4 separate regions of the Homo sapiens genome follow, and regions 1, 3 and 4 are each linked to region 2. Evidence: promoter capture Hi-C in human tissues and cell types (Jung and others, 2019). All regions are on one chromosome and are shown on one strand. The core of a region is centred on a gene start or on the middle of the fragment in contact, and the rest is flanking DNA. Distances in the headings are between cores, read along the strand shown.

Evidence for each region. Contacts are between HindIII fragments. The study calls those that stand out against the background at their distance.
Region 1: a contact is called between a fragment that was not itself captured here and the fragment with the promoter of SCAF11 in region 2, in 1 of the 25 tissues and cell types used here (spleen).
Region 3: a fragment that was not itself captured here is called in contact with the fragment with the promoter of SCAF11 in region 2 in 1 of the 25 tissues and cell types used here (spleen).
Region 4: a contact is called between a fragment that was not itself captured here and the fragment with the promoter of SCAF11 in region 2, in 1 of the 25 tissues and cell types used here (aorta).

What each region holds. Positions count from the first base shown.
Region 1 is chr12:45,545,999-45,552,356 of GRCh38, reverse strand. The region is part of intron 1 of LOC105369743 (a long non-coding RNA gene); the gene reads left to right. Among named protein-coding and RNA genes, the nearest start is that of LINC00938, 180 kb to the left of the region's middle. The HindIII fragment of the contact is 4,842 bases long and covers 1,544-6,358 here.
Region 2 is chr12:45,987,112-45,993,373 of GRCh38, reverse strand. SCAF11 (SR-related CTD associated factor 11) reads left to right here and starts at 2,800. Exons shown (of 15, transcript NM_004719.3): 1 at 2,800-3,021. RefSeq lists enhancers at 1,687-1,886, 2,367-2,436, 2,447-2,646, 2,365-3,078, 2,887-3,096 and 1 more and silencers at 2,767-2,816, 3,157-3,256, 3,657-3,726. The HindIII fragment of the contact is 22,524 bases long and covers 1-5,372 here.
Region 3 is chr12:45,651,687-45,657,941 of GRCh38, reverse strand. No RefSeq gene overlaps it. Among named protein-coding and RNA genes, the nearest start is that of LINC00938, 73 kb to the left of the region's middle. RefSeq lists a silencer at 2,472-2,561. The HindIII fragment of the contact is 6,928 bases long and covers 945-6,255 here.
Region 4 is chr12:46,298,040-46,304,701 of GRCh38, reverse strand. No RefSeq gene overlaps it. Among named protein-coding and RNA genes, the nearest start is that of SLC38A1, 32 kb to the right of the region's middle. The HindIII fragment of the contact is 3,590 bases long and covers 3,158-6,662 here.

The sequences.
Region 1 (6,358 bases), core at 2,715-5,214, 440 kb after region 2:
GTAAAAATACATACATATTATTCATATAAGACAGCTTTCAGCTCTGGATTAAAGAGGAGCCTGACTCTTGCATCAGATTTTATCTTAAAATATCCAAATATGATACTATTTATGATGTTTTATCAGTGGTAGTAGAGTAGAAAGGGTAAAGTTATATCTAGTAAGCCAGGTTATGTACAGAAATCACAGCCTGTTGTGACTGTTACAGATGGGACATGGTTGTGTTGGAGAAAAGTCAAGAATTTTTGCTCTAGGCTACACCTACTTTTTTCCTCAATTTTTTAAAAACGTGAACTTAAAAATATCAAGTCAAGAATGTCCTTGTTTAATAATATGCATTTTAAATTTGCTAATAAGAAGTGTGTTAGATCTGATCATTTTGAACATTTTCCACTTAGCTCTTAACTATAAAATCCCCACAGAGGAAAAATGTTTAAGGGAAGAGCCTTCTGTGCCAGGGACCATGAATTGAACAAAAAGAGCCAGGAAGATTGGGCTGTTCTTATTCAACATTGGAAGCAGTAGTGATGCTTGAGGACACCTGTTCTGTGGAGTAGGCCCCACTGTCATCCAGGCTTATCTTATCATGCAGGTCTGGTCTTTCCTTTCCAGAAAGCTTCACATGTGAACATCAAAGGCCAAAGAACAGTGAAAGAACTGATATCAGTGCTCAAATAATTGTTTTTACACATATATATGTAAATTTCCTCTTGTTGCCTTCCTAATTTGATGGATAACTGATGATAATAAGGCACCAGAATGGGTGTGATTACGTTGTTGATGTGTGATACTGGTAGCAGGAGCACTGTGCTAAGAGGCAAGAGATGCATTTCCACTCCTGGCTTAGCAGGTAACCAGCTGTATGACCTTCAGCAAGTTACTTCCATTTTCCTGACCTCGGCTTTCCCAATGGTAAAATACTGGGGCCAGACCAGCTGAGCTCTAAACTCCCATCTAACTTCACATTCCATGGTTTGTTGTGTACAGTTCAATAGTATTTCTTTTCTTGTCTTGTTTGGGATATGGTTAAACATGGAAGAGAGCAAGGGCAGAGAAACTCTAAAATCACAATGAATTTTAAAGTCAACTAGAAATAGGTTTCATAGCAGATGAGTGTAGATACTTTTGCTTCATGTAGATTATTTTTTGAATATTCATATTTATTTTTAAATTATACTTTAATAAAAAATAGGCTCTTTACTCATGGTTTGTTTGTTTCTTTTTCCTTCCTTCCCAGATTCTTAGTATTTCTGCCTCTCAGTTATTTGTCTTGAAATTCTAGTAAAGTCCTGAAATGGAATGATTTATTGATTTATATCTGTCTCTTTCCAAAAGAACTAGGAGTGGCTTCTTGGTGTGTAGGCGGTGGTGGTATTAAGAGAACTGGCATTGTTACCCTGTTAATCCTTTATCTGACTGCTGGTGCTTTAGGATTTTCTGATACTTCCGCCTGGTGATTTTCCTCATGCTATGTTTATTGCTTATGTTTTTTAACTTCAGAATTCTTCAATTCTGAACTTTTTCTAGATGATGCGTTTTAGAAACATAATGTCTAGGCCTATCAATTGCATTCTACAGACTTAGTTTTTTGTAAAAATAGTTCCAAGTCCCCTATTTAATTTAGGTATAGCTCAATACAGTGACCCAGAAAAAAAAAAAAAAGGACCTTCTTTCCCTCTCCTTACCCGATTTTTAAACAAGTAATTTTAGATGCTAGTAAAATTGAAAAAACATATTTGAAAATGAGTGAGCTCTTTAACACAGGGCAAAATATAGTCGAACAAATGAGAGGCAGCATCATGACACATTATCTATCATAGCAAAAAGTGAAAAACAATGTAAGTGTCCAAAAATAGAGGTGTGATTAAACAAATGAGGGTACATTTGAAAAATTGTTCTGAGTGTATTGTTAGACAAAAGCAGGCTATATAACAGAATTTATAATATAATTTTAAAAATGTAAGACAATGTACAATGCATAGAAGAAAAGCCTGGAAGGATATAGCTGGAGACATTCACAGGGGCTCCATATTAAGAAGGTGGGGAATTAAGACTAATTTTAAATTTTTTTCTTGTTCAGCATCTGAAGTTTCCTAAACTGTCTACAAGAAACATGTATTATTTTGTAACAAGAAACAATACTACAAAAATAAATTTCAGTTGAATGAAATAGTAAATGAACAAATAAGTTAGTTAAAATCTTAGAATAAAATTTAGGAGACTATATTGAAAATGTGGCGACAGGGAGATCATGAAGACAAAGATGGGGAATCCAAAAACTATAAAAGAAAAGATATTTGACTTTATGAGAGCTTGTTTTGTCTGATAATAGATATCAAAAAATGGGCCAAAAACTGTTTTAAAAATATTTGCAATGCATATAGTAAATAAGAGGTTAGTATCTATAATATATACACAACTTCTACAAACACATTAACAAAAGAAACCCAAACAAGTCAGTAAACCAAGCTTGTGGATGGACAGGTCATACAACTGTGAAAGCAAACGCCATACAAAAAGATATTTGTCTTAGTCTGTTTTGTGCTGCTCTAACCACAATAAAAGAGACTGGATAACCTATAAAGAAAAGAAATTTATTTCTCACAGTTCTGCTGTTCTGGAGGCTGAGAAATCCAAGATCAAGGCACCAGCACCTGGTGAGGGCTTTCCTCCGGTGGCAAAAGGAGGCATCGCAAAGAAAGGGGGAGAGAGAGAGACAGAGAGTAAAAGGGGGTGGAATTTTCCCTTTGATTAGGAACTCACTCTTGTGATAATGGCATTAATTCGTCAATGAGGGCAGAGCCCTCATGACCTAATCACCTCCTAAAGGCTCCACCTTACAACTCTGTTGCATTGGAAATTAGGTTTCCAACATATGAACTTTATGACTCACATTCAAATCATAGCAATGTTCTATTTTCCCAGTAGTTAAGCAAATGTAGGTTAAATAAAAATGAAGTATTCAGAATGGCAGAAATCAAAAAGAGTGATAATGCCTAATGCTGTATGGACATAGGAGAAGAAGATCCTCTCAGCATTGCTGGTGGATGTGTAAAATGCTTTAACTTTTTTGGAAAGCAATCTGGCAATATCTAATATCTACTAAAATTTTTTCCAATAATCTGATAGAATAGGACATTATTTTCCTCTTCTAACATTTTTTTCCATGTAAAGAGAGCTCTGTTTGGAGAACAATCCTGACTTCTCTTCATTTCCCTAAGTGAATTATCTGATCGGTAAATTTGAGGATCGGGACTTAGACATGTGTTGCTCAGCCTGTCCTTTCCTACTTCTGGGATCTACTTACCTGCAGAGAGCATGAACGCTGATATTTTCTTGGCCAATAAGCTCAGTGGCTATGGGTCTGCCCCTGTAGCGGGCCTCTGGTTAATTAGCACTGCCTGGGCCTGGGTAGGAGGTGGGTTAGTATGGCTACTGCGGAGATGGGCTCCTCAGATCTCCTTCGAGAAAACTTGCTGTGCAAATTATATCTGGTTGACAGCCTCCAGCCATTAAACATTTACACATGCCACAGCACTCAGGCTGAGACCACCCTGTCTGGACGGGACAATCTTTATTCTGGTACCTTGAGTGATCTGGCTGAGACTTTCTCCGAGCTACCTTCTCCTATCCAGTCCTTCTTTCCCTCTCTCCTTTCCCAGTTGTCAGACTTGCATCACAACCTGAAGACTCTGTCTGCTTACTCCTGTCTGTTTTCATTTTATGCTTCATAAGTATTTCCTCCAATAATCATTTGCCAGTTGCATTCCAACTTGGTGACTGCTTCTCAGAGGACCCAGACACACAACTGGTACCAGGAGTGGTCTGAGGACGAAGGCAGTAGGATGGGTTGGGGGTTGGATAATTCGCTGGTGGCAAGGAGCACCCCACCCCATGAGTATTAGTTTCCTATTGCTGCTGTAACAAATTAGTGGCTTAAAACAGCATGTATTTATTATCTTAAAGTTCTGGAAGACAAAAGTCCAAAATGGGTCTCATTGGGCTAAAATCAAGATGTCAGCAGGGCTGTGTCCCTCTGGAGGCTCTCAGGGAGAATCTGTTTCCTTGCACTTTCCAGCTTCTAGAGGCCAGCGTTCCTTGGTTTATAGACCGTTCTTCAAAGCCAGTAGCATACATCTTCAAATTTCTCCCAGCTCTGACTTTTATCTCCCTTTTTCACTTATAAGGACTCTTGTGATCACACTGGGCCCACCCAGACAGTTCAGAATAGCCTTCCCATCTCAAGACCCTTAGCTTATTCACATCTGCAAAGTCCCATTTGCCATGTAAGTAAACATATTCACAGGTTCTGGTGACTAGGACAGAGACATCTTGTGGGGAAGGAGGGGCATTATTCTACTCTGCCTAATATGCCACGTATTATGTAGACATGGATAATCCCTGATATAAAGTGCAGTTCAATTGCTAAAAATTTAACCAGTGGTGACCTGGGTAGATGGAAATGCCCTTGATGATTCAGATATTTTAAATGCAATGGGGAGGAACAAATGCAGTGATGTTGGCAGTGATGTTAGTTGATGTTTAGAGGTTGTATTAATGCTCTGCAGGGAGATAATGAGAAGCTGAGGGCTATGAGTGAACATCTATAGGCTGAATGTGGGAGCTGGAGAGCCCCTCTGTAAGGCCTCTTTGGGAGTTTAGTAAGAGGCCCTAATCTCCTGCAGTGGAAGCATGGATGTAGCCGAGGAGCAAGTGTAGGACTTAGTAGTTAGAATCCAGGAGCTCCAGAGACCTGTAAATTCTCAACAAGTCAGGTCTGTACTGTTAAGATCAGGGCTCTGGTTGGGAAAGCTTAGGATCCTGAAATATGGGATGGGGACATCTGGGTGGTTGCCTGCAAGGACTGTAGCTGTGTGGACTCTTCTGAACCCACAACACTCTGAGCCCAACCCTCTCGATGAAAAGCTAGCCCTTCCCTCATGTGGGAAGACTGCTGTGGCCTTCCTCCACAAAGCAACAGGTGTTCCTCTAAGGAGCTGCCTCTACTGCCTCTCCTGAATGCCTCTATGATAACTAGGGTTAACTCCCAGCAGAGTTGAGCTAGGAATGTGCTAGGACTGATAAGGGAGGAAAGAGATTACACCTCAAAGGAGCTTCAAAGATTAAATAGCACTTACTGGCAGGAGCCAGGGAGGTACACTGGGGAATAAATTTTGATGAGGCTTAATCAAGGAGGCAGAACATACAACTGGATAAGCAAGAATTCACTGACTTTAGGGAACTTTCTCAGTACATGGGGTTTAACGCCGGCGAGGACCCCAGGGGATGGGGCAAACTTGCTGCTAGGGTCGCTCTTAGAAATCTGGGCTGGGGCCAGTGACCCAGCTGGCTGGTCAGAGGACTGGGGAAAAGGATGGACACTGTTTCTCAAGGACACCACCAGCATCTTGGTAGCAGCTCAGCTACAAAGGGTCACGTCCATCCTGGAAGGGCCAGTGGTTTGACCTCACAGGACAGATACTGATTCTCGGTGTTAGTTTGCCTTTCCTTTCTGCAAAGCCTCAGCCAAAACTCACCCAGGAGCTTGCCAAATGCCTGATCTGCAGGTGTGGAATCCCATACAGCATAGCATCTGACCATGGGACCCACTTCACAGGAGGTAGATCAAAACCAGCTGACTCAGACATATTTCTGCAATGTATTGTTAAGGGCAAAAAGCAAGATCTAGGGAAGTATATATATAGCATGAGCCTATTTTTGAAAATCAGAAAATGACAACCCTACTCCATGTTTGTTTATGTTTGTTTATGATTCTGACAACATGGAAAATGTCATGAAAGGATATGTACTGGCCACTAACCCTGGTTATGTTGGAGTTAGGATGAAGCAGAGGAATGTCTGGTAAAAAAGAGGAATGCTCAATGACAGAGGGAAGGAGGAGGATTTTAAAAAGTCTACATTTTAAAAAATTGCTCAGGATAAAAGAGTATTGTGATATTACTGTACCACTAAAATATAAATAGTGGTTATCTTAAAGTGATGGAATTCCAGAATATGCCAGCCTCTGTCCTCTGTTGCTTTCTGGCAATCACTCAGTCTTATATATGGAATCCTCTGTCCATCAACCACGTTGGTATTCAGTGTTTTAATCTGAAAGAAGAGAACCAAACCAAGCCTCCTGTGATATGCAAAGGCAGTGGTAGAGTTACAAGATTTCTAGACACACACACACACACACATACACACACACACACTTTTATATATAACAGTATATATGTATATATATATTTCAGTACAGCATAAAAAGTATCAACTTTGTACAACATGTCAGATAGGTTGCAAAGTGCTGGTGACACCAAGATGAATAAGACACAGTTTTACAGTATAAAGGGGGAAT
Region 2 (6,262 bases), core at 1,551-4,050:
CATCAAAATCAATACGTTGATTACCCATTTTTAAACGTGCCACTGTGGGTTTCTGTTGCTATGTGACAGGACTGATATTTTAAGTGCCTGGTAAAGTGCAACACACCAAGTGGACATTCAGTTTAAGGCTGTTTTATGATGCATATCATTTGTGCTTTTTACAGTTAAAATCAAATCTAAAATGTTGACAATGATGGTTCATATATCAACTTTACTCCTCCATTTTATAGCCCATCTTTTATTGATTTAGAACTCTGTACCTCTTTATTATATTGTAAATTTAAAAAATATGAAAACATCAGAGAGAATAATAAATCTTTACATCCAAACATAATAAGGAGGATGCTGCATATACAGAAATACACATGAACTTTTCTCTGGAAAGAATGGCCTATTACAAACCACCACTCTCTTCTATTTGCACATGAAGGTAGAAACCACAGTGGCATTAAGAGCATTTTTCCTTAAGACATGCTCACATGATATCTAGGAGGCCAACAGTAAGAACGTGAAAACTTAATTCTCTGCTAGGAAACAAATACATCAAAAGATCTGGTATTTTTAGTTTTGATGAAACTATACTGTTATTATCAATTTAAAATAGTTTTCTATTTGGCAGATTTTATCATTTGGGCTTAAATTTTGAGAAAAAACACTTTCCTAAAACAAAACTGAGATTTTTAAAAATATATTTAGATTTTAAATATATATAGATTTTTTAAAATATAAAACATACACAGAAGCATGTTGCACCAGGAGTCCATATCAGGAGTTACACTCTCTAGAGTGAATCCTAGAGATTGTATACATAAAAAAGCTACACCCTTATTCTGTTGGATGGCTCATAAATGTTGATCTGGTTATAGCTTTCCACACTAATTTTCACTATTTCTCTTAACAATCATCCTTTATAATCATTCTTTATATCCAAATAGTATATATCCTTTACTATTTGCTCTGATTTTGACAGGGAAAGGTCCTTCATAAGAATTTTGTTGTTCCATCAGAAGAAAGCATTTTAACGCCTCTAGCTCATTTTCCCCTCAAATATCCCAAATACAGTAAAGCCACCTAAATTCCCAAACCCCATATCAAAAACAGTACACTGAAAAACTCCAAAGACTTTGACAGCGACAAGACCGCCATTCATGTGTTCCTTCAGCAAGTGCCAGACGCTGTTATGAAAGTGATAAGACACTGTCCCAATCCTCACAGTGTGAGACAGTGAGCAGACTCAACAGAATGCATAGGATGAAAGTGCCAGAAAAGCGACGTCCTCAGGGCGGGAGCAGGGGACGCCGCAACGTAGTCTGCGAGAATGCAGGAAGGCGGCAGTGAAGCGGTCGGTCGGCGGGGCCGCGGCAAAGTGGGGAGGAAACTCATCCCGGGCAGGCGTCAGGGTGGCTGGAGAGCGCAGCACGCGCGAACAGAACGGGGGCAGGCGACAGGAAAACGTGTGAGCGCGCGGCTGAAAGCGACTGGGACCTGGGTGAGCCGCGCGCGGGGAGCAGAGCTTAGTCCTGCGGGAGCCGCAAGCAGGACAAGGGCGTGGGTGGGAGGACTGGAAGGTCAGCTGGTAGATGGGGGACACTGAGGGCAGGCAGAGCAACCGGAAGCTTGCTGCAGTCGACGAGAAGAGAAACTAGGAGGTTAAATAATCAGTGACTTTGAAAAAGTCAAAATACCTCCGAGGTAAAACAAAACATTTAACAACCCGCCGGGGGAAAAAGTGGAGGATGGCACACACGTCACTATCTAACCACAACGCGGAGGCCTTTTAAGTAAATAATGATAAAGTTTTTGTTGTTGTTTGAGACAGGGTCTCGCTCTGTCGCCCAGGCTGGAGTGCAGTGGAACGATCTCGGCTCACTGCAACCTCCGCCTCCCGGGTTCAAGCGATTCTCCCACCTCATCTTCCCGAGGAGCTGGGACCGCAGGTGCGCGCCACCACGGCCGGTTAATTTTATTTTTTGTAGAAACGAGATCTTAATACGTCGCTCAAGCTGGTCTCGAACTGCTGAGCTCAAGCGATCCGCCAGCCTCGGCCTCCCAAAGCGCTGGGATTACCGGCGTGAGCCACCGCGCACCTGGCCCAAATTTAATTTTGTGATGTGGGGTTAAGACATGGGAAAGCCCCTAGGCTCGGGGAGTCAGGCGGGAAAGCTCTCCCCCTGGCATCTAAAAAAATGCCCACCAGAAAGGAGGAAAGGTGGGCTTCCAAATTGCCGACTCTTCACTCCACAGGCTGCATTTCAGGTGGGCAGCGCAGCCAGGTGAACACTCAATCCACCGCAAACATGCGGACACTCTTTTCAATATCAGATTACCATAAAGATAAGGAGCACACCCTGCGCAAAATCCTTCCTGTCCAGTTCCCTTAAAGCCTCTTTCATTGTCCTCCGCGACGCAGCCTGTAAAACTGCCAAAGGAGGGCAGAGGCCAAAGTCCACGCGCTGCGCATGCGCACCATCCGCAGTGTGGGCGAAGGGCGGTGCTGGAAGGACGTTTCCCAGAAGGCCCCTCCAGCGCAGCTGCCCTTCCTCCCGCTCACAGGCCGCGTGACGTGACTCCACCCACCACGCTTCTCGGTCTCAAACAGCAGTTTGCCAGCGCCCCCCTGCGGCCCAACTGGGTACTACGAACATGCACTCAGGGCCAGAGCGAGCGAGTAAGCAGAATGTGGCGAGTCCGGCTGCCGCCGTCGTCACCTTAGCGCGCCGACAGCGAGGGAAGGGAGGAGGAGGGAGACGCGCAGGGAGGGGAGGGGAGGGAGGAGGCTAGACAAGGCGGGGGAAGGGGGAGTAGCGGTGGCTTAAGCCGCGCGGAGCAGCGCAACCTGGGTCGCTCCCTGCTTCGCCGCCGCCTCCGGACCGAGCCAGCGGAGTCAGTGTCCTAGAGACCCTGTAACACCACAAAGCGGACGAAGGAGTCCATGTTGGGGAACTTGGCAGCGGAGTGACTGGGACCTGGGAACCTACTGTGGGGCCGCGGCCGGACCGAGCGCCTCGACCTCGGTCTGAGGTAAACACTGGTCGACCCGCGGGGTGGATGGGCTTGGGCAGCTGTCTGGGAGAGACGAGGGTTAGCGGCCGGCGCAGAGCGCTGGAGCGGGCCTAGGGCGACGCGAGGGCTGACAAAGTTTCGGAATCTCGCGCGGCCCGTGCGACGTCGTGCGCTGGGAGGAAAGTTGGAGCTACCTCTCGAAGTGGGGGAGGCTGCGGCCGGGAGGGCCCCTTTCCCTCTCGCTGCCCCGCGAGGGAGGCTCGGCCCGGCCCTGGGCCGCCGCCGCCTCTCTGTCGCACTCTGTCCCATTTCCTCCTTGTGGCCTACGCGTCTCCCGCCGCCTTAGCTGGCGAAGCCTGTCCCCGTCCGGGTGCAGGGTCCTACGGGGGGGGGGGAAGGGGCTCCACGCCAGAACCGCCACAGACACCCTCCTCCCTGCAGTGGAAACGTGTCCTGCTGAGCTTCCGGGCGCTCCCGACCGCGGTGTCGGCTTTTCTTGGGAGACTTTGGTCGCGAGCGTCCAAGCCCGCTAGTGAAACCAAACTTTACTACGCCGTGACCTCTCGAGTGCGCGAATGGGGAAGAGCCGGCGCTTCTAAGCATCAGCCTTTTTCACTCCTTGATCTGAACTTCAAACTACTCATCCACCCCCAGTGTTTTAAATTCGCTACCTGGGCTGACAACTACGGGGCCGGGAGATATAAATTTAGCCTAATCAGTCGCCCCTTCTGAGACCTAGGAATTTTGAACCATTAAAAAGATTTCCTACAGATGGCTGGCGGTCTTGCCACCAACACGTATTTTGAAGTATTGTTTCAAAAGTAGACGCCTGATTTAGAGTACTTGATTTAGACATTCACGGATTCAAATGTTGAATTTTGAAATACTTCCAATATATTTCCGTATTGTATTACATACAGTGTCTACCAGCTGACTGTTGTTCATTCATTTTGGATTACATTTTGGCTAACATGCTACCACTGACCTAAGATACTTAAGCAAAACTGCTGAAAAATGTTTTTAATGCTTTGTGTAGTAGATGCTGATGTTAAATTTTTTTCTCCGATTTGGGAATTTTCCCCGAATTTTGGGAAAAGCATATTAATAAATGCATTATTTTTTCGTTTTAAAAGAAAAATTAATTTCTACATATCACCACCTACCTCAGCAGCAGAATATCAGGGCAGTACATTTTAAAATAACGGTTGGTTTTTGTATTTTATTAGTAATTGTATTAAAATTTTGACATGTAATCAAGTCTGTTTCTAAACAATTGCTTTCTCTTTCCTGTTTCTTTGGCAGTTGGCTTGATCATGTCACTATTTTGGTTAAAAGATGCAAGAAAAAGTTCATGGGCCTTTTGTTTTTGTTGTTTTAACTAAGCAAGAGAAATGAAATCTTGAAACTGTCTTTGGATTTCTTTTGTTTTATATTATCCTATCGGATAATCTGAATTTATATTTTTTATGCAATGTGAGTTTTTTAAAAACAGTTCTTAGGGTAGCTGCATTTTAGCTATAATATTTTTTGGTGCTTGCAGATATTTTAACAGTCATTCAGTTTTTCACATTCAGATAGTGAACTTTTTGCCTGAGAGTTTGAGTACATTTTAAGATTTCACTGGGGTAAAATTTGAATGTTTGCTTACTGTAAGTATACTCATGCTTTAAAGACATTCTTCAGTATAAAGGGGAAGAAAACTGTAGAAGAAAATTTAAAGTTTCTAAATATGTTGCCAGAAAACATGTCATGGAGAAAATTTTACGGATAATTTTTTAATTTTTTCTGTTAATACCTTCATGTGGTAATAGGGCTAGTGTGTTAAGATCGAAACTTTTCAGGAGTTACTTAGCTCTCTATCGTCCTTTGGCACCAACTAGAGCTTAGACAGTTTTCTGGAAAACCTGTGCTTTTATTCAGCAGAGATAGGATGAATCAGTGCAGTTACATGATACTGTTGATTCATCATCAGTAACATCTTTTAGTAATCAGAAAATACAGTACTATACTACCCATCAACTTAATACTGAACTTTTAAAGTATATCAGAGATAGTTGTAGCACCTTAATTAAAGAGAGTAGCAGGCATAAAAGTAATAAAAAGAAAGTCAACTGTAGAATAATTTTCATTGTAACTTCCCTTTAGCAAGCCCTGCTATCACCTGCTTTTGTCTTTTAAGATGTAAATTGTACCTTGACTTACCTTGCCCAGTGAAATAAACTTAAAATCCAGATTTTTAATTATACTCTGTCCCCCAAAATAAGTTAATAACCTTGCACCTTGTCTTGCTTCTGAGCAGTAATAACTGTTAGTAGTGCTGAGTAGAGCCCAGAGTTAAAATATCCAGTATCATTCTCTTGCTATTCCCAAAACTCATCTTTGCATTGTATTTTTTTAAGTTGTGTCTATGAACTTAATGTATGAAATCCTAGTACATAGACACATAAAAATTCAATACATAACGTAAAAACACAACCACTATTTTGCTTTCAAAAATATCTTCCTAAAAAGTCACTGTGACCTTTGCTGATCTACAGTCTTTAACACTCCATAGCCAGAGTGATCCTGATAAAATGTCAGGTCATGTAACTTCTTTTCTCAAATGGCTTCCCTTCTCAGTCATAGTAAATTCCATACTCCTATGGTCTACAAGGCTCTATGATTTAAGTCTCTTCTTCCTCTCTGACTTCATCTCCTCACCCTTTCTCCAATCTCCTTTCCCCTACGCTGTTGTGGTCTTCTCTAACTACTGTGTATAAAACAACAGCCTTCCCCCGATATTTTGTATCTGTTTTTATGCTAGATTTTTCTCCATTGCATTTATCATTTTGCAACATATTGTGTAATCTAACTTAGGTTTATTGTTTATTTTCTTCACTGTGATTTATCTTCTGTGAGATCAGCATTTGTCAGTATTTGTCACCTAAACACCTGAACAATGCCTTCAGTGTAAGTTAATGAATTAACCTGCTTTCAGCTGTAAACGTTACAAATAGTGATTGTGGTTTGAAACTTTAGACTAAGCAAGTCTCAGTCTGTAGCATAAACTGCCAAGTTACTTATATCCATGCATGTGGGCCATGTTCATTTCAGGGGTCCTTGTTTTTTGTTGTTGTTTGTTTTGTTTTTGCTTTCAGATAGCATCTCGCTGTCTCCCAGGCTGGAGCGCAGTGGTGTGATCACAGCTCTCACTTTGGTGCCCAGGCTGGTCTCAAATTCCTGGGCTAAGTAATCATCCCGCCTTGGCCTCCCAAAGTGC
Region 3 (6,255 bases), core at 3,159-5,658, 340 kb after region 2:
TTTGAAATCATTTTCTCTTAAGTTTTGTGGAAACTCATGTGTTGCTCTTCAGATGCTTAATTCTATTTCCTTTGTGGGTAGTCTGCTTTTAAATGTTTTAACCATTCTGAGATATTTTAGCATTTTCTCTTTTTTACTTTATTTTATTTTTAGGCGACAGGGTCTCGCTCTGTCACCCAGGCTGGAGTGCAGTGGCGTGATCATAGCCCACTACAGCTGCCATCTCTCAAGCGATCCTCCCACCTCAGCCTCCTGAATAGCTGGGACTACAGGAATGCACCACCATGCCCAGCTAATTTTTTAATTTTTGTTTTTAGTAGATATGAGGTCTTACTATGTTGCTCAGGCTGGTCTCAAGCTCCTGAGCTCAAGCAATCCTCCTGCCTTGGCCTCACAAAATGCTGGGATTCAGGCGTGAGGCACCATACCCAAGCAGCATTTTCTCTTTATACTCAAAGTTCTAAAATTTCACCAGGATATGTCTAGGTGTAGTGTTTTCCTTTTATATTCATTAATGCTCAGAGAACTCTTTCATTTTGAGGATTCTAGCTTTTCTCCCAGGGACATTTTATTCTATTAATATATGTACAGTCTCCATTATATTATTTGTGCTTTCTTTTATAGTAATATCTAACATTTTCATAACTTTGTTTTCTTTCTTTATTCTTTTTTTTTTTTTTTTTTTAGAGAGATGGGCTGTCAGCATATCGCACAGGCTGAGGCCAGAGGATGACTTGAGGACAGGAATTCTCATGTGATCCTCCTGCCTCAGCCTCCCAAGTAGCTGGGATTACAGGTGCAAGTCATTTCATCTGGTTACAACTTTATTTACAAGATCACTAATTTGAGCTTTAACCTTGTTTATTATGTTCTTTTTGTTTGTTTTGAGACAGAGTCTCACTCTATCACCCAGGCTGGAGCTGGAGTGCAGGGGTGTGATCACAGCTCACTGCAACCTCAAACTCCTGAGCTCAGGCAATCCTCCCACCTCAACCTCCTGACTAGCTGGGACTATAGGTGCTTGCCACCATACTGGCTCATTCTGTTAATTCTATAATTTAGCTGTTCTATTTTTTTCTTTTAACAATCATATTTTGAGGCCTCTTCTTTTCTTTTTTTTTTTTTAAGACAGGGTCTCACTGCATCACCCAGGTTGGAGTGCAGTGGCACAATCACGGCTACTGCAACCTAAACCTCTGGGCTCAAGCGATCCTTCCACCTTAACCTCCTGAGTAGCTGGGACGACAGGTAAGTTTTACCACACCTGGCTAATTTTCAAATTTTTTGTAGAGATGGGGTTCTTGCTATGTTGCCCAGACTGGTCTCAAGCTCCTGGACTCAAGCAATCCTCTTGCCTTGGCCTTCCAAAGTGCTGAGATTACAGATGTGACTGACTGTGCCACTTATTTTCTTATTGATCTTTTAATAGCAGCCTATTTTTGTTCTAATCTTGCAATATCTTCCTAAATCTCCTTGAGAATACTATCTTTAATTTACAAAGGTTTTTTTTCTATTCCTTGCATCATCTCTTTCTTCTGAATTAATTGTTTGTTGCTTATTGATATTGATATTGATCTTTTTCTTTTTGTTATTAGTTTTCCTCAAAAGGACCATGTTAATTAGTATAGGTGGGCAGCTGAGCTTGCTTTACAGTTGTATAGATCTGATTACCCAACAACCTTCTTCCCTGACAAGCAGAGTTCTTTGGGCAAGAGGGTAGTTCCAGTGGATGCAGGCATCTCTTATAGTTCATAGACAGGGAGGCAATTGCCAATCAGCAAGGAGGGCTTGACTCTTGGGGATGAGCTGATTCTAGCTCAGTCAATCAGTGTTCTAGAGCCTCTAGATTCAGCACACATGCTATGTTCTCTTGATTTTTGTTTTGGCGGTCCACTTTAGGCTCTTTTCTACTTTTTCTCCAGTCCCAACAGCCATACCCAGTAGAAATGAAAATGCTCAACTGGCTGCTCTCTGCTCATATGAGAGGAAGTTGAGGAGCTTAGTGGTTCCTCAAAATTTTTGCCGTTCAGCCCAAACATCTTGATCTTTGTACCTGCTGACTGTGAACTTGGATTCTCTAGAAGCCTACTCTGGAAGAATGTCTCCTACCTCCTCTGTAGTTTTATTCTATGAGCATTTGGAATCATGATTTCTTCTCTTTGTTTTCTCTGACCATTTGAGCCCATTTGCATTCCAACTTCTAGAAAAACATAATTTCTTACCTGCTGAAGGCACGCTTTATTCCATGGATTTATTCCATTTCACATTATTCCTGAAATTGAATCAGGTCATGAGAGAGTTGGAAAATGTATGCTCATTCACTCATCTTGAGCCAGAACTTTCACACTAATTTTAAAAAATTAATCTTTAAAATCTATTTAATCTTTTGAATAGATAATACATAATACATTCACATCAATCAAAATCACAAGATATAAAAAGGTACTGAATGGAATAGGAAATGATTGCTCCACACTGGTAGTAAGCGTATATGCACGGGCTCCATGGCAACAGTGCAGACAAGAGCATCAGCTTCAGGGCAACCTGTGCTCCTCCTTCTGGACAGCGCTCAGCTCTACACAGTCTCAACAGCTGCAGCTTCACAACAGCATGAACCACGTTAATTAATACAATATACATGCATTGGAGAATATAGACCATTTCTCTGACTATACGCAAGAAAAACTTATCTGGCTGATTAATTCACTAACTGTAAGTAACTTATACAGACTAGTTGGTTTGCAAGTTTGAGGTGTGTGTGTGTGTGTGTGTGTGTGTATAAAGATAAATGTATATATAGTGTTATAAATGCATAGCTCTAAATTATGTACTTTTATATAAATATGACACTATATATTATATATCATAACATATAGACAATTATTCTGACATGGACTACAAATTTTTTTTGGTTTTACTTTTTTTTTTTTTTTTGAGATGGAGTCGTGCTCTGTCACTAGGCTGGAGTGCAGTGGCATGATCTTGGCTCACTGCAACCTCTGCCTCCCGGGTTCAAGCGATTCTCCTGCCTCAGCCTCCTGAGTAGCTGGGATTACAGGCGCGTGCCACCACGCAGGGCTAATTTTTGTATTTTTAGTAGAGATGGGATTTCACCATGTTGGCCAGGATGGTCTCAATCTCCCGATCTCATGATCCGCCTGCCTTGGCCTCCCAAAGTGCTGGGATTACAGGCGTGAGCCACCGCACCCGGCCTGTTTTACTTTTTTAATCTGCATTTTGTATGTTTTCTCATGCAGCTGTTTTTCTTTATGCTTAAATTTACCTTTTTTAAAATAATCCAGATTTTATTTCATAAAGACCATCCCTACCCTGGAATTACAGAAAATTATCCTGTGTTTTTCTATTCCTTTTACAGTTCTACTCTTCTACATTAGAAGTTTTACCATATTGGGTTTGGCTTCGTGTTAAATGTGTGAGGTTTTAATCCAACTGTATTTTTTCCAGATGGCCACCCATCTGTCCCAATAATTTATGCACTCAGTTTTGATTTTGGCATCTGGACCATTTTCCCCAACAATGGTCAACCTTTTAACATTCCAAATATGAGCCTGAGCAAAATGGCAGAATCTCTTTCAAGTAGAATGACTTTGAAGTCAGAAGCAAGGCCAGCAGAGGAAGACAGCCGTGAGATTCTAAGCCAGCAAATGCCAGCACTGGAAGCCACTGGCACAACTGATGAATCCTCTTGGACCCAGTGGGCTCCTTCACATGACGTCACACTGGAGTGAGCTCCTTTACAGTAGGTTCTCCTGGGACATGGCCTGCTGCTGTCCTGAAGAGGAGATCTCTTATGCATTGGATTTTCTGTTGGTTTTTAATAGCATAGGCCTAATAGAGACCTAGATGCCATGATATTCATTTTTCCATTTTCCCTGTGCATTTGCAACAGTTATCTTTGTCTATCATAGAAAACCCTTTGGTCAAAGGTAAGAGTAGATTAGAAGTCTTTTTCTTGTCAACCTCAGGAGAGCACGAACAAGCCTCCCATACAGGGAATTCTCCGTCAGGAATTTCTTTGGTTGTGACTTCTTTTCCTGGCAAGATGACTGTGATTTGCCTTCACACTTACACATTCTCTGTTAAAAGGTACAGTGTCTGATTGGGCCTGTGGCACTCTTTTATGTTGTTTCAATTTTTACTTATTCTACATAGTTTACAAAGGGTTGAGTTGCTTCTGGGGCCCTCAGTACCACAACTGGAGGTATGGTCAATGGACTCTTCCTACTCTGGAATTGTTGGGGGGTGGGAGAGCACTTTCTGAAAGCATTTGAAAAAGACAGATACATTTTTCTACACAGAATATTTCTCCCCGTATCTATCCAGGAAATGAATATGTTGGAGCTGAAAGGGAGAACATGGGATCAATTTGGGGACGTTTATTCATGTTTTTTTTTAGAAACTAGCATCATAGATTAGGTTCGTTTTTGTTCCTGTATCTTAATTACCATGACTCTTTTAGATTGCATGAAAAGCGATTATTTCCACCTCATTGTTTTCACCGCAGAGTCTATCTGTACTCATAATTAGACCTGGGATGTTAGAAGATGAAGAGTAGCGTGAAACAAAGAACTGAAAACTATGGGTGACATTTTACTTTCTGAAAACTTTTAAAACCTTAGAAAATCCTTCTCATGTGCTTTGAGGGAGAAATTTCTTCTGTCATCTTCTATTATTGGGTGACTAATGATTTAAAACTGGTTTAAACTGCACAGTAGCCCTGCAAATGTGGCATTCTCCTTTCTATTGCCTGGTTTGGCAAGAATGCTCAGCCAGCAAATAAAAACTCTGGCCAGCGTGGTAAGGTAACATAGGAAGGAAAATTAGAAGAGGCCAACTACGCTTTTATCATACAATAAATTTCTTACTATGTGGGAAAAAAATTTTCAGGTATAATAAATATAAAAGGACCTGAATTTAGGTTAACTGTCCAATAATTAATGTAGATTCAGGGGCACAGTAATACAAGGTATGAATTTGATAAATAAAATTATGGAAGTATAGATTTCATTCATCCTCTGAGTGCTTCACTTTTCTCCCCTCCCCTCCACTTCCCTCCCCTTTCGTCTCCTATTCTCTCCTCTCCTCTCCTCTTTTCTTTTTTTCTCAGCTCACTGCAACTTCCACCTCCCAGGTTCAAGCGATTCTCCTGCCTCAGCCTCTCAAGTAGTGCTAAGTTTTGTATTTTTAGTAGAGACGGGGTTTCATCATGTTGGCCAGGCTGGTCTCAAACTCCTGACCTCGGCCTCCCAGAGTGCTGAAATTACAGGCGTGAGCCACAGCGCCCAACCTGGGTGCTTTACTTTTTTAAGTTTACAAACCAAGGTTAATGTCCCTAAAGTTTGTAGATCCCATGTCAAGTTTTAACTGGAATGTTAATATTACAAAACTAGATAGTATAATTGCTTTTAAAAAATAGACTTGCTAGGCATGGTTGTGTGTGCCGGTAGTCCCAACTACTTGAGAGGCTGAGGTAGGAGGATCGCTTGAGCCCAGGAGTTCAAGAACAGCTTCGGCAACATAGCAAAATCCCTCTCTAAATAAATAAACACATCAATAAAATAAAATAAAATTTAAAAATAAGCTCAATGTAAATTTACTCTTACTAAAGTTATGAATATGTTTCCTTCCATTAGTTGATATTAGACTGTGACCTTTCTGCATTTAGAAGAGAGAAACTTTCTTCTCCTCCTCCTCTAAAATTATTGACCTGTTGGTTTCTAGACATTCCATCCAAAATACATATTAACTTCCTTGCTAAGTTCTAAGTCTAAGCCTCTCAGATGAAAATTGTACTTGGAAGTATAGGTCAGCTTCAGACTTGCCTATTTCACTACAGACTAGAACTAGATTTTCAACATTTTGTGAGAAGAAAATGTTAGGATTATATGTGATTATTTGTGACTTACTGACCTTTTATTTACACCCCATGCCATTGCTGTGAATAAGCTATGAGCTAAGATATTATTAAACTATGAGTTTAATAAGGACTTCAGTGTGGCTGGGTGCAGTGGCTCACACCCGTAATCCCAGCACTTTCTGGGACTGAGACAAGAGGATTGCTTGAGCTTAGGAGGTTGAGACCAGCCTGGGCAACATAGTGAGACCTTGTCTTGACAAAAAACCTTTTTAAAAATTAGCCCAGCTACTTGGGAGGCTGAGGCAGGAGGATTGCTTGAGCCCAGAACTGTGTTTGCACCACTGCACTCCAACCTGGATGACAGAGCAGGAGAGCAA
Region 4 (6,662 bases), core at 3,703-6,202, 310 kb before region 2:
TTGGTTTTTGTTTTTGTTTGTCTATTGATTATTGTAGGCTATCTCTGTGCTGAGGATCAGCCTGAGGCATAAACCTAAAGTCCTCTCAGTCCTTTTCTGAGCCTCTGCCTTTCCCTGGGCAGGCACTACGACTTTCTAATTTCTCTGTATATGTAGTCGCTTTTGGACGTTCTAGTTTTTAATGTATTGTCCCCAAAGAGGAAAAAGACAAAATGAAGGGGAAAAAATGTGCCAGCCATTTAAATGCTCTGAAAATCACTTCAGCCAGAGAAAGAGGGACTTCGAATAATAGAGAGAGGTGCAACAATAGGGGCTTCCTGCCCCTTTGTTTATATCTCTGTAATCAGAAGCAGCGATCAGCAAACAGGTCCCAAACATTAGGACAGGGTCCTTTTTGCCCTCTCTAGCTCCCTCAAGCTGTGTGCAATCTGCTCCAGGAACATGTGTACAGCTGCCTGCCAGAGGGTTGAGGTAGTTGTTACTGTGCCAAGAACTGAAATGGACCAAAAGAAACTGTAATTTACTTTCTGAGCCTTTCCCTGGAAGTTGCAAGCATTGAAGATACTCCGGAGTTCCAAAATAGTTACATTAGCCAGATTCTGCCATTGTGATTGTTGTGTAGGTGGGGAGACACACTTCTGGTGCTTCCTATTCTGCCATTTTCCCAGAATCCTCCTTTCAGGGAACTTTTATTGTTATTTTACACACAATTCTGACAAGATTAAGTATCTGGTATCCAAGCCTATAGTAGATCAGAAGTAGCAATTCAGAAGGAGGAAAGTAAGCTTTAATGAGCAGGCCCACTGCCTCACATATACTTAGTGGTGCCTAGAGCAATGCTCTCCCTGCCTCAGTGTCTGCTGTTGGAGCCATCCCTGCTCCACCGAGGGCTACTGCTCTACTACCCACAGACCCCTGCCTGTCCTATTCACTCTAGATCTTTTCTCACTTTGCAGCTGGTTAGAGACATCTGCTTTTCCTAGTTGGAGACCAGCCATTTCAGAGAAAGGTAACCACAGCAGAGATGTGCCACACATGATACAGTTCTTCTCCTTCCTCTACTCCTTAATCACCATCTTCTCTTTCTAAACCCGCAGAACACCAACTCTTTCCAGCAGCCCAGACTCTGCAGTTAAGCCTGAACCACTCTGTGCAATATATATCTTTATACTAAGATGATTTTTCCTTAAAGGCTCAATTGCCTCTTCCTGAAGTTTAATGATTTTTGTTTTGGGGGGAGGTTCTCTCTTTTACATTAAAACTTTCTACACATCGTAAGCCCCATTTGCGAGCTGTATTCTATTTAGTTCATTTACCCTGAGTTTCCGGATCACTGTAAGTTGAGAGATAAAACTGAACATCTAGCGACAACATTCCAAGGGAGTTAAATTTCTGGAACTTTCTAACACAGTTAGGAAGTCAGTCAGCCAGGATCATGCAGATGACCTCTAGGGGGCAGTACTTCCTAGTTCCACAGGCCAGCCTATCAGAGACTTTGCTCTGGCTTAGCAAAAAATAATCTTACATCATCATTAGCTTCCCACCAAATTAGTAAGCATACACAAACACAGGCATGTGTGTACATGCATGCACACATGCACACACACAAATTAACTTTCATATTCAATCCTGGCAATGGTACAGTAAAACTGTTGCTTTCAAATATTGATGATGATATTGGAACGTATTTGGAAAGCAATATAGTAAAATGTATCAAAAATTCTAAAAAATGTTTGCTGACGTAGTAATTCTGTTAACCTATATGTGGTCTCAAAAGATCATCTAAAATGTGGGGACAGATATGTCCTGCATTATTTATAATGTTAAAAATTATAAGAAAATTGGCTGGGTGCAGTGGCTTAAGCCTGTAATCCCAGCACTTTGGGAGGCCGAGGCGGGCAGATCACGAGGTCAGGAGATCGAGACCATCCTGCCTAACACGGTGAAACCCCGTCTCTACTAAAAATACAAAAAAATTAGCTGGGCGTGGTGGTGGGCGCCTGTAGTCCCAGCTACTCAGGAGGCTGAGGCAGGAGAATGGCGTGAACCCGGGAGGCGGAGCTTGCAGTGAGCCAAGATTGCGCCACTGCACTCCAGCCTGGGCGACAGAGCGAGACTCTGTCTCAAAAAAAAAGAAAGAAAGAAAGAAAGAGAATTAAAAGCCAATAATAGATTAAAGATATTATACTACCTTTATCCAATGGAATTCTATGTTGATATTAAAATAATTTACATAAAGTCTATGTTACAATATATGCATGGTACAATAGCTACCATTTATTAAATGCTTACTATGTTCCAAGCTGTATATTAGATATGTATGGATATTACTTCCTTTCTGTCTCACAATAACCCTAGGAAGCAGGGTTTAAGGCTCTCTCGTTTTGTTGTTGCTGTTTTTTTTTTGTTTGTTTGTTTGTTTTTGAGACAGAGTCTTGCTCTGTCGCCCAGGCTAGAGTGCAGTGGCATAATCTTGGCTCACTGCAACCTCTGCCTCCCGGGTTCAAGCAATTCTCCTGCCTCAGCCTCCTGAGTAGCTGGGATTACAGGTGCATGCCACCATGCCTGGCTAATTTTTGTGTTTTTTTAGTAGAGACGGGGTCTCACCATGTTGGCCAGGCTGATCTTGAGCTCCTGACCGTGTGATCCTCCCTCCTCAGCCTTCCAAAGTGCTGGGATTACAGGATTACAGGCATAAGCCACCGCTCCCAGCCTATTTAAGGCTCCCTTAAAGGTTCTTCCTTCATGCTCGCTTCCCTCTTCCTATCTAGCTAGTCTCCTTTTCCACTTGATGAAAAGAGAACTCCTTATAGAAGCTCATAGCTGACTCCAGAGCCTGGGAGTTTAACCACTATCCTAAACTGTCTCCTATCTAATATGATACTAAACGGAAAAGCAAAAAGGAATTAGATTACAAAATTATTATATCCACTACAATTTAAACTTGACAGATGTTGCCTTTAGAAAAAATCTTGGAAATGAATACACAGGATTGATGACAGTTGTTTTAGGGTAATGGGATGCTAATTTTTTCAAAATTTTTTTGTAATATAGTTTATTCTTATAAGCTTAAATATTTTAAGGCCAAAATGAAAATTTTTGGGTTCTCAAATGATGAATCATTCTTTCCTTGCTCTAAAACATTCATCATGGTCATTGTAATGTTTTCACATTTTAAAAATATGCTAAGCAATTAAAAATGTTTTCCACAACATATGTGAAAGTAATGGTGATTAAGCATTGAAGCTTTAGAGCTTAAGGGGAGAAATATTGATAATCTCACAGAAACTCATCAATATAGTGCTGTGTAGGTTTTTATTTTATGTACATTGGCTCACTTGATCTTTCCAATGCCTGAAAGTTAGAACTTCAACTTTCTGAAAGTTGTCCAGAAAGCTAATTCCCTCAAGGCTCAATGAAGTCCCAGCTCTACCATATTTACTGTATTTACTGGCTAGTCTACATGTCCCAGAAAAAAGCCACTGGGGTGCTTTGCTCAACCCCACTTAGCACAGCTGGAAACACAGCTGCAGGATGCAGCTGTTCAAATCTCTCAAATAATCATCACTGAAAAATGCTGAAGAGGAAGGCCCTTTTGAAGATTCCTCTTTATCACCCCCCACTTCTGCCTGTCCCTGCAGGCCGGCTTCCCTTTCCCACTTAATAGGAAGAACACTTCTACTTACTGTTGTTAAACAACTAACAGCTGGTGAAAGAGGCGGCACCTGACTTCTTCCCCGCACTTAAGGCTCTCACAAACATAAATGCAACTGCAGAAATTTGGGGGACAAATATTGCCCCCACTGGGTAAAATCTCAGCAGAAACTGCAGCTTTTTTTTTTTTTGAGACAGAGTTTCACTCTTGTTGCCAAGGCTGGAGTGCAATGGTGCGATCTTGGCTCACTTCCACCTCTGCCTCCAGGGTTCAAGCGATTCTCTGCCTCAGCCTCCTGAGTAGCTGAGACTACAGGTGCTTGCCACCATGCCCAGCTAATTTTTTGTATTTTTAGTAGAGATGGGGTTTCACCATGTTAGGATGGTCTCGATCTCCTGACCTCGTGATCCACCTGCCTTGGCCTCCCGAAGTGCTGGCATTACAGGAGTGAGCCACCACGCCTGGCCAAAACAGTAGCTTTAATTCAGACTTAAAACACCTAACAGGGAAAACAAACTCTAAATGCCACTCCTCTTTTTTAAAAGTATAATTTTCTTCTGATTATAAAATTAATGCCTCATGTAGAAAAATGCAAAAATGAAAATGAGTTTAAAGAACATAAAATCACCGTAAGTGCTTTCACCCAGAAATAGCCTCTAATAATATACATATTTTTAAGAATCCTGACCTTTAAAAACTATGTGATTATATGTATTTTTCAAAAACATACATTTACATGCACTTTTAAATTCTGCCATTTGAGAATCATACTGCATATACCAGTTTCCTAATTTATTTTCAGTTAACATTACTTGGATCTTCCCATTTTATTAACTAAGCTGCAAAATTACATTTTTAATGTGTTATGCATAATATCATAACTTTAGAAACCATTCCCCCTACAGTTTTGTTGTAATATTAGCACCATCTGACTCCTCTTCCTGTATTCCTTAACTCCACTGTATCCTCATGGGCATTTAACACTCTCTGGCTTCAGTGAGAATTAAGCACAGGAAAAGGAAAAGCAGGCCATCTGTGCAGGAAGGTAAAACCAGTGTAAATTAAATGGGGTGTGAAAAAAAGGCACTTATGCTCTTTAAATATGTGCTACTTGAAAGAAATGCTTACCTATGTACAGAACTAATCACTGGACACACAAGCTTCAGGTGAATGATGGGTGCTAAGTGTTCTTTGTTCACAAAGCAAAAGCAATCCTATTTTTCAAAATAAGCTTTATAGCTCCAAAATGAACAAAAGAGATTTTGATCAAATCTTAAACATTTCAAGGACATTAAGCCAAACACAAAACAAACCTCCACCTCTGGTGATAGTGCCATTCTCCTCCTGGCCCTACTTATCAGCTCAGTTATTTTTGACTCTTTCTATTCATCCAGAGCTGTTTGCTCACACATTGTCATCTCCTTCTCACTGATGAGTTTTTGTTCTTCCATTTTTTTTTCTACTTCTCCCACCACTCATCTCCTCCTTGTCTTCATTGGAACACTTGCAGTGGAATAACATGGTGATAGAGAATGTGGGGTTTGAAGTCATGCTGAGCTTTTGAATTCTGTCTGTGGCAACTTATGCAAATAATTTATCCTCTCTGTCCCTTAGCCTCCAATTTGACAGATGGGGATGATGGTACCTACTTCATAGGACTGTTGTGAGGAGTACGTGTTACTTTCTGTAATGCACTATTAAAATAGTGCCCAGCACAGTGAGCACTTGACCAATATTGCTATTGTTCTTACTACTGGAGGAGCTCCCTCAATGTTTTCTCTGCTTTTAGGCTCTCAACTCACACACAAGAATAACTATAGTGACCTCTGTTGCCAGCTGTTTGCCTCCTGTGTGCCTAAGCTCAATACATGTTTTATTTTTATTCCTTACAACATTCTGTCCACTAGATATTATGCTCCGTTTTACAGATGGGAAAACAGACTTGAAAAAAATTACAATCCATCTTTTACAATTTCATTAAAAAACTGCAACATCCATTTTAGTCACATGATTTCTTTGCTCAAATGTCCCTAAGATATTCTATTAACTGCACACACCACTCTCACACACCTTACTTCAGTTTTCCAATCACAGATATTGGGTTAGTGTCTGTTAACTCATTCTCACTGCAACACAACGTAGCCATTCCAAATCTATCTCTCTGCCTTCTCAGCTCCAGTCCTGAGGTTCCTTTTTATTTTGCTCATGCTCCTTCCTTTCCTTATTACCATTTTCTATCATAAGAAAAGATTTAAATCTTCACCTTCTTCTAGAAGTGCAGTGAAATACTCTGTTCTTGTACTTCTTGGAGTACTTCACTCACATTGAAGGTCCCTAATTTAACTATGGATACCTTTTTAAAAAGAATCAATGCATGTGGTCAAAGATAAAATGATTGGTATATGTTGGTGAAATTTTGGAACAAGACATTGTGATTTTAAGATTTTTCCAGCCACTGACAGAGAAGCATAGTTTAGATGGCTGAGGTGGCCAAGCTGGCAGTGATGGTTTAAAGCTTCTCAGACTTCAGTGTGCAAAGCAATCACTTAGGGAACTGGCTAAAATCACTTAGGGAACTGGCTAAAATCACTTAGGGAACTGGTTAAAATCGCTTAGGGAACTGCTCAAAATGCAGATTCTGATTCTGCAGGCCTAGAGTGGAGCCTGATGTTCTGCATATCTGATAAAGTCTCAGGTGATGATGATGCTGATGCTGTTGATTCTTGAGTAGCAAGGGTTGAGGAGACATTCTCAAGGAAAAAATGGAAAAACTCTAATCGAGAACCATAGAAAAACACTAACTAATAAAGAGATAAAAAGCAAAAGTAACCTACAAATGACAAATATTTGTCAAGGAATAGAAAGACCCAAAGTTTTAAGGGATTTCAGGAATAAATTTGACTGGATGTACTTTTCATCTTTTATATTAACTTTAGATCCAAATTCTGCACGCCTCTCATGCACCTCTCCGTCACATAGGATTTATTATCTGCACTGTCTCCTAGCA